Regions from separate parts of the Homo sapiens genome. Here regions 1 and 3 are each linked to region 2. The links are contacts of gene promoters, found by promoter capture Hi-C in human tissues and cell types (Jung and others, 2019). All regions are on one chromosome and are shown on one strand. The core of a region is centred on a gene start or on the middle of the fragment in contact, and the rest is flanking DNA. Distances in the headings are between cores, read along the strand shown. Region 1 has its middle 39 kb from the start of LINC01560. Region 2 holds the start of GRIPAP1 (GRIP1 associated protein 1). Region 3 has its middle 7.0 kb from the start of ZNF81.

What was found. The method cuts DNA at HindIII sites, captures the fragments that hold promoters and counts their contacts. A contact is called where the count stands out against the background at its distance.
Region 1: a fragment that was not itself captured here is called in contact with the fragment with the promoter of GRIPAP1 in region 2 in 1 of the 25 tissues and cell types used here (stomach).
Region 3: a fragment that was not itself captured here is called in contact with the fragment with the promoter of GRIPAP1 in region 2 in 1 of the 25 tissues and cell types used here (aorta).

Annotation. Positions count from the first base shown.
Region 1 is chrX:47,442,421-47,445,120 of GRCh38, reverse strand. No RefSeq gene overlaps it. Among named protein-coding and RNA genes, the nearest start is that of LINC01560, 39 kb to the left of the region's middle. The HindIII fragment of the contact is 4,206 bases long and covers 1-2,700 here.
Region 2 is chrX:49,000,956-49,003,655 of GRCh38, reverse strand. It overlaps GRIPAP1 (GRIP1 associated protein 1), which reads left to right and starts at 1,392. Exons shown (of 26, transcript NM_020137.5): 1 at 1,392-1,468. The coding sequence starts at 1,427. RefSeq lists a cis regulatory region at 1 and an enhancer at 1,274-1,383. The HindIII fragment of the contact is 33,502 bases long and covers 1-2,700 here.
Region 3 is chrX:47,828,571-47,831,302 of GRCh38, reverse strand. No RefSeq gene overlaps it. Among named protein-coding and RNA genes, the nearest start is that of ZNF81, 7.0 kb to the left of the region's middle. The HindIII fragment of the contact is 4,232 bases long and covers 1-2,732 here.

The DNA of each region.
Region 1 (2,700 bases), core at 35-2,534, 1.6 Mb after region 2:
TTTTTTATTGTTGAGCACTGATAGTTTTTAAAAATATATTCTGGGTGTAACTTCACTATCAGTCCATTATCCTTGCAAAGGTTTTCTCCCAGTCTCTGGATTGTCTTTTCATTCTCTTAAGAGTGTCTTTTGAAGAACAGAACTGCTTATTTTGATGAAGTCCGTTCTTTCCATTTGTTCATTTCTGGGTTGTGCTTTGAGTGCTGTATCTAAGAAATCCTTGCCTAACCAAAGATTACAATGATTTTTTCCTGTGTTTTCTTCTAAAGGTTTAAGTTTTACATCTAGATCTAGCATGTATTTTGAGTTATATGGTGTGAAATATGGATCCAAGTTCTTTTATGTTTTTGTTTTGTTTTGTTTTGTTTTTGCTTATGGATATTCAAATGTTTCCACACCATTTGTTTAAAAATACTACCCTTTCTCAATATTTTGACTTTTGTCAAAAGTCACTTGTCCAGGCCAGACATGGTGGCTCATGCCCTGTAATCCCAGTGTTTTGCAAGGCTGACATGGGGGGATCACTTGAGGCCAGGAGTTCAAGACCAGCTTGGGCAACATGGCAAGATCCTGTCTCTAAAAAAATTCTTTTTAAATTACCCAGGGGTAGTGGTGCATGCCTATAGTCCCAGTTACTCAGAAGGCTGGGGTGGGAGGATTGCTTGAGCCCAGGAGCTAGAGGCTGCAGGGAGCTATGATCCACACCACTGCACTCCAGCCTGGGTAACAGAGTGAGACCCAGTCTCTTAAAAAAGAAAAACCATCACTTGTCCAGAGGTGGAGCTTCTGGAATGGTAGGGTGAGGAGCTCATCAAAACCCCTCCCCCAAAAGCTTTTTTTAAATGGTCAAAAACTACCAAACCTTGATAAGAATAGTGGGGTCTATGGCATTTAGACTTGGAGCTGCTCCCATCCACAGCTCTGTGGGCATGGTAGCCATGAGGAATGGAAGCCTCACTGTAAATGGAGGGAGCTGACCTGACTCTGAGCTCCAGAGAAAAGCTCCATGCCTAGGGGTATTGTCAAAAACAACAGCAATGTTGGTAGCAAGTAATTGGGGAAGGCCAACCTCACAGCTGCCTGAGGCTGCAACATTGTTTGAGTGAGCAGCAGACCAGACAAAAAATTAAAGGGATATGGAAAATAAGACAGCAGTAGTGGGAATTGATAAGTCCATGCATATGCATGAGGATGTGGAAGGCTGTGTACATGACCACAAAATATCAGGTACCTAGATGAATGTGAGACCCTATACAAGCCGAAATGAATGCCAGCACAGACTTACAAGCAGACCGAACTTAATATGCGTACTCAAACTCACACAGTTATCCCCTTAGTGGAAGCCATACTGGTTTGAGGTGTATAATCACAACTTCTAAGCAATCATTGGATAAAAATAAGCTATGCAGACCCACAGGTGACCCCAAGGAAGCCAGGCATAAAAACGGAAAGAATTATTTAAAAACTAAACAGCCAGGTGTGGCGGCTCACACCTGTAATCCCAGCACTTTGGGAGGCTGAGGCAGGAGGATCACCTGAGGTCAGGAGTTCAAGACCAGCCTGGCCAACATGGTAAAACCCCATCTCTACTAAAAATATAAAATTAGCCAGGTGTGGTAGCGCATGCCTGTAATTCTAGCTACTTGGGAGGCTGAGGCAGGAGAATCGCTTGAACCTGGGAGGTGGAGGTTGCAGTGAGCTGAAATCGCACCACTGCACTCCAGCCTGGGCAACAAGAGTGAAACTCCATCTCAAAAAAAAAAACTAAGCAGAGACATCAGTAACTGCACACTGAGGGATGAAAAACTCTACAGAATTAGTCCCCATGAGTCCCTAAACAAACAAAAAACAACAGCAACAATAATAACTGTGGAGGGTGGGGTCATAATCCAGAATTACTAAAATATATATTATCTACAGTGTCAACTTTTTAACAATTATGAGACATGCAAAACAAACAAACTGCACACACAGAGAATTCTGGTCCATACACAGGGGAAAAAAAAATACCAGTCCACTAGAAACTGTCTCTGAGGATGTCCACATGTTGCATTTAATAGTTAAAGACTTGGTGTCTTTATATATTAAATAGCCACGTGTGGTGGTACATGCCTGTGGTCCCAGCTAATCAGGAGGCTGAAGCAAAAGGATCGCTTGAGCCCAGGAATTGGAGACTGCAGTAAGCCATGATAGTGTCACTGCACTCTAGCCTGTGCTACAGAGCAAGACACTGTCTCAAAAATAAAAAATAAAAAAAAATAAAATATCTAGTTCACCAAAAAAAAAAAAAGAGAGAAAGAGAAAGAACAAAAAGATATGAGAGCTAAGGAAAACAAATCTCAAAATGGCAGATGTAAATCTATCCATATCAATAATTATATTCGAAATAAATGGACTAAATTCCCCAATCAAAAGGCAGAGACTGTCATATTAGGATGAAGACAGGATCCAACCATATGCTACCTGTAAAAGCCACACTTTAGATTCAAAGTTACAAATACGCTGAAAGTAAAATGATGGAAAAATATCTAACATGCAAAGAGTAACATAAATGAGCTGGAGTGGCTATACTGATTTCTGGCAAAATAGAAATTTAGTTGGAAAATGTTACTAAACACAAAAGGGTCATTTTATAATGATACTATGGTCAATTCATCAGAAAAATATTTTTTTAATTTTATATAAATTTATAAAATTGTA
Region 2 (2,700 bases), core at 143-2,642:
ACTTTTCTTTTTCTTTCTTTTCTTGGAGACAGAGTCTCGCTCTATCCCCCAGGCTGGAGTGTAGTGGTGCGATCTCGGCTCACCGCAACCTCTGCCTGGCGGGTTCAAGCGATTCTCGTGCCTCAGCCTTCCGAGTAGCTGGGATTACAGGCGCCCACCACCACACCCGGCCAATTTTTGTGTTTTTAGTAGAGATGGGGTTTCACCATGTTGGCCAGGTTAGTCTCGAACTCCTGACCGCAAGTGAACAGCCCTCCTTGGCCTCCCAAAGTGCTGGGATTACAGGCGTGAGCCACCGCGCCCGGCCCTGCTGGAAATATTTTTCCACAGCAGGGAAATCATTAAATTCTACGAAAATAAGAAGGCTGGGCGCGGTGGCTCACGCCTTAATCCCAGCACTCTGGGAGGCCGAGGCGGGCGGACTACCTGAGGTCGGGAGTTCGAGACCGGCCTGACCAATATGGAGAAACCCCGTCTCTACTAAAAAAAAAAAAAAAAATTACCCGGACGAGGTGGCGGGCGCCTGTAATCCCAGCTACTCGGGAGGCTGAGGCAGGAGAATCGCTTGAACTCGCCAAGCGGAGGTTGCTGTGATCGGATATCGTGCCACTGCACTCCAGCCTGGGCAACAAAAGTGAAACTCCGTCTCAAAAAAGAAAAACAACAACAACAACAACAACAAAAACAGAAAGAAAAAAGAAAATAAGAAAAAAACTACACTGAGATACCATTTCTTACTCTCAGATCGGTGAGGGTTATAGTGAATTCTAATACTTGAATGAGCCTGGTGTTTCACCACCCTGGTTTGTTTTTTGTTTTTGTTTTGTTTTAATGTAGCTTTTTCGTTTGATTCACTGTCACTCTTTCCACTCTGCTATTTTTATTGGTGGCTAAGTCCTTTACCTAACGTGACATGCAGTATCATGATAACAAAATAAGTGTCAAACCTTAAAAAAAAAAAAAAAAAAAAAGGCCAAAGGCTTTACAAGAGGTGGGATTCCCCTTTGGGGTCTCCCGGAGGAGGGGCGGGAACAAGACCAGAGCGAAGCTTCCGCTTTCATTTCTATGGTTATTAAGTTACCCATTCTCATTAAAGGAATACCGCGGAAGGGTGATTTTCTGTCGGCAAAGACTTCCCTAGCGACGAGTCCACCCATGAAACGGGGATGTAATAATGTCGTATCACAATGGGTGGCCTAGAAGAGTCCAAAAGCCAATCAGATGACTTACATTCGGGTAGAACGTTGTATTACAGTTCACCTGACTCGTCGGTTTCGTTCTCTTCTCTGCGTCTCCAAAATGCTGCCCTTCGGAATTAGGTTCTACCCCCTCCATTCCTGGCCAGTGGTTTGGTCCGACCTTAATACTGCCAGGAGGCGCGAGCTGCGTCTGCGCAGAAAGCTGGCGGGGGGGTGGGGGGAGGAACATGGCGCAAGCTCTGTCTGAGGAGGAGTTTCAGCGGATGCAGGTGCCGCTCGCGGTGGGAAAGACCACCCGGCTAGGCGACCGGGGGCGGGGTAGCGAGAGGTCGTGCTATCAGCTCTGAGAAGGGGTTGGTTGGGATGGACCCTGAGTTTATGGGGTGGGTCTGGAGAAGGGAAACTGAGGCTCGGAGTGGTGAGACTATTGGATTCCGAGATACTCTGCGGCTTTGAAGGTTGGACTCTGTTAGCATTGTGGGCTGGGAGAGCGCCATTAAGTAGGCGGTACCTTACTCAGACCTGGAGGGGACGAGACTTTTGGGCCCGTGCAGGGGACACCGTCGGCGGGTGATGATAATGGGCTTTGAGGGAAGGAGATCCTGAGAAGGCGAAACCATTTTGTCTGGAGAGGAAGGAAGCGGGTGTTGGGTCGTTTGCGTCATGGTGGTGGGAGCCCTTGAGAGGGCAGAACCATTAGCGGGTGGGAGGTGGTAAGTTTTGGGGGAGATACCACTGTGCCCGGGGATTGGGGAAAGACCCCAGATGTTGTCATTGTTCCTGGGAGGTGGAGATCCTGTGCCATTGGTGGTTGGTAGTGCATCCTAAGAGGGGGCGGCACCATTGGATGATTAAGGGTGATCCCATTAGGCCTGGGGTGAAGAAGGCCATGAATGGGTAATACCATTAATCCCATTAACTGGGGGGAGGACCAGAGGGGTAAAAGATTGATACCTTGGACTACAAGGAGGGAAGATCACTGGGCTTTGGGGAGGTACCCCCACTTGATTCTTTTGGGGGGACTCTGAGATGCAATGAAAGGCCATAGCATTGCACTATGAATGGGCCCTTGTTGAGAGGGTTCCTCACTGGGGGGGGGGTCTGAACAGGGTCCTGCATGGGGAGGGGAGGAACTCTGAGGGAGGACAGGTAATCCAATTGGTCCTTGAATGAGGGAAACCAGCTGTCCCTGTGTGAGGGACACTGAGAATGGAAGGGCGAGTTGATTAACCCATGAATGGGGAAGACCACTGTCATCTGAAAGGGATTCTAAGTGAGTAAGAGTCATCCAACTGGCCTACCCAAGGCCTTGTAGAGGCCTACCCTGAAGGGTGTAGGGCCATTCCCAATGGATCATGACTGGGGAGATCTTGAGGGGAGTGGGAATACCCTTGAATGAGGAACATTGATCCCACTGGGCCATGAATGAGGGAGAACTACTGGGCTTTGTTGGGGGGCAAGTCTCGGGGGGTACAAAGGATATTCCACTTGGACCAGTACT
Region 3 (2,732 bases), core at 225-2,724, 1.2 Mb after region 2:
TGCCACTTCATGTTTTTAGTTTTTATTTTAAAAAAAAATTTTTGGCTGGGCACAGTGGCTCACACCTGTAATCCCAGCACTTTGGGAGGCTGAGGCGGGTGGATCACGAGGTCAGGAGTTCAAGACCAGCCTGGCCAAGATGGTGAAACCCCGTCTCTACTAAAAATACAAAAATTAGCCGGGTGTGGTGGCGGACTCCTGTAATCCCAGCTACTCGGGAAGCTAAGGCAGAGAATTGCTTGAACCCGGGAAGTGGAGGTTGTAGTGAGCCAAGATCGTGCCACTGCACTCCAGCCTGGGCGACAGAGTGAGACTCCATCTCAAAAAAAATTATGTTTTAAATTATGTTTTAAAATGCACAATTAAGTTATTATTGACTATAGTCACCCTATCGTGCTATCAAATAGTAGATCTTATTCATTTTTTCTAACTATATTTCTTGTACCTGCTAACCATCCCCACCTCCCCACCAGCCCCCCATTATCCTTCCCAGCCTCTGGTAACCATCCTTCTACTCTCTATCTCCGTAATTGTTTTGATTTATAGCTCCCACAAATAAGTGAGAACATGCGATGTTTGTCTTTCTGTGCCTCGCTTATTTCACTTAACAATGATCTCCAGTTCCATCCATGTTGTTGCAAATGACTGGTCTCATTCTTTTTATGGCTAAATTGTATTCCATTATGTATAAGTACAATGTTTTCTTTATCCATTCATCTGTTGATGGACCTTTAGGTGGGTTCCAAATCTTAGCTATTGTAAACAGTGCTGCAACAAACATAGGAGTGCAGGTATTTCTTCCATATACTGATTTCCAGAACTGCCACTTTAAATAGAGAGGTCAGTCGGGATTCTTTACATCTATGTGGGTACCCAGTTGAAAACCAAGAAGAATGCAGAGTTCGAGTATTTTTATATCTGCAGCTAAGGACATAATGATGAGCACCTGTGTCCTAGAGCAGATGCAAAAATTAATCCACAGCCAAGGTCTCCTGGTCACTCTTGTCTTGTGTGCCTCCCTTTAGTAGGGGAAAACATTTTACAAAGTCTTCCACTGACAGAAGTCAAAGAAACCTTTGTGAAAAGTATCAGGTTCAATGGCTGAGCAGGGACCTCAGGACCAATAACCACAACCATTTACATACTTCAGTAGATAGCAAGCAATAATACCTTATTTATTTTACACCCAGCTTTTTAATGGAAAAATTTCACACCTACACAAAAGTTGAAAGAATTGCACTATGAATATTCAAATACCTTCCACCTAGAAGTAACAATTGTTCATCTATGTCACATTTGCCTTATATTTCTGTTTGCATATATACAGGCCCCATCATTTAAAAACAGAGTCAAAAGAAAATGATTGAAGTGACTGCTATAGAGCTTAAAGGCTTTATTCAGCTGAGGTGCATCAGGTGATGTCCTGATTGAAGCAGGGTCAGGGTTTTTATGAGGGAAAGTGGAATATGTGTTCTTGCTTTTGGCTTAGGTAGCTGTATGTGTGTATACACACACACACACACACACACACACACACACACACACACACACACACACACACACACACACTAGAGAGAGACGGGGTCTCGCTATGTTGCCCAGGCTGATACCAAACTCCTGTCCTCAAGCGATCCTCCTGCCTCAGCCTCCCAAAGTGCTAGGATTATAGTTGTGAGCTACCATGCCTGGCCTGGATAGCAGTTTTTGACTTTAAGTGAAACTCGTAGTTGGTGGCAGGGTCGTTCCTGTTTTTGTGCCCCTTGCTCAATCAGAACCCTTCAGGACAGTATTTTTAGAGGATTACTTTTGCAAACATTGTGGCTTATCTGCTAGTCAGAGCTCATGGGGGCAGGGGAGAGATAGCAAAAAAGGATGAAAGGTGCAAGGTAGAAGGCAACAGAGAAACTGAGGACTCCACCGTGTTTGTTTTACAATACCTTTGTACAGTAAGCTGCAGACATCATGCTCCTTATACTCAGCAGGATATATACTCAGCATGTATCTCCTGAGGGACTGAATATACAAACAGGCAATGGCCAGACCATATATAACAATAGAATCCTGACCTACAACCTCTACAGCAATAAGCATGGGAAGCCAAACCACAACCTCAGTAGCAATCAGCCCAGATGGTCAGGATTTGATTGATGACATCTAGCTTCTCAATTTTTTTAACCCAATTTCCAACTCAGGGCCAACCAGAAAAAGCCAAATCTACTTCCCAAATCAATCGCATAGGATGCCCCACTTCAGTTAGTCCACCTCCAGCTTGTGCACTCCAACACCCTCCAATCAGGACACACCTGAAGCCTTCCCCTTTTTCTACTACATATAAAGCTTTCCCATTCTTCTGCCTGCCTTTGAGTCTTTGACAAACGCCAAGTGATAATGGCCCAATACCTTACTGTAGTAAGCTCTGAAAAGTCTCTGCTTTTTCTCATTGGATCATCTGTGTAGATTTCCACTCTCCTAAGAACAAGGACATTTTCTTGCATAGCCACAAACCCATTCTCACCCCTAAGAAATTTGAGAGGTTTTTTTAAACGATTTAAAATTTTATGTTTAAATTATCATATAGTAACATTGACTTTTTGGTGTACAGTTTAATTAATTAATTCCTTATTTATTTATTTTTGAGATGGAGTCTCGCTCTGTCACCCAGGCTGTAGTGCAGTGGCCTGATCTCAGCTCACTGCAACCTCTGCCTCCCGGGTTCAAGCCATTCTCCTGCC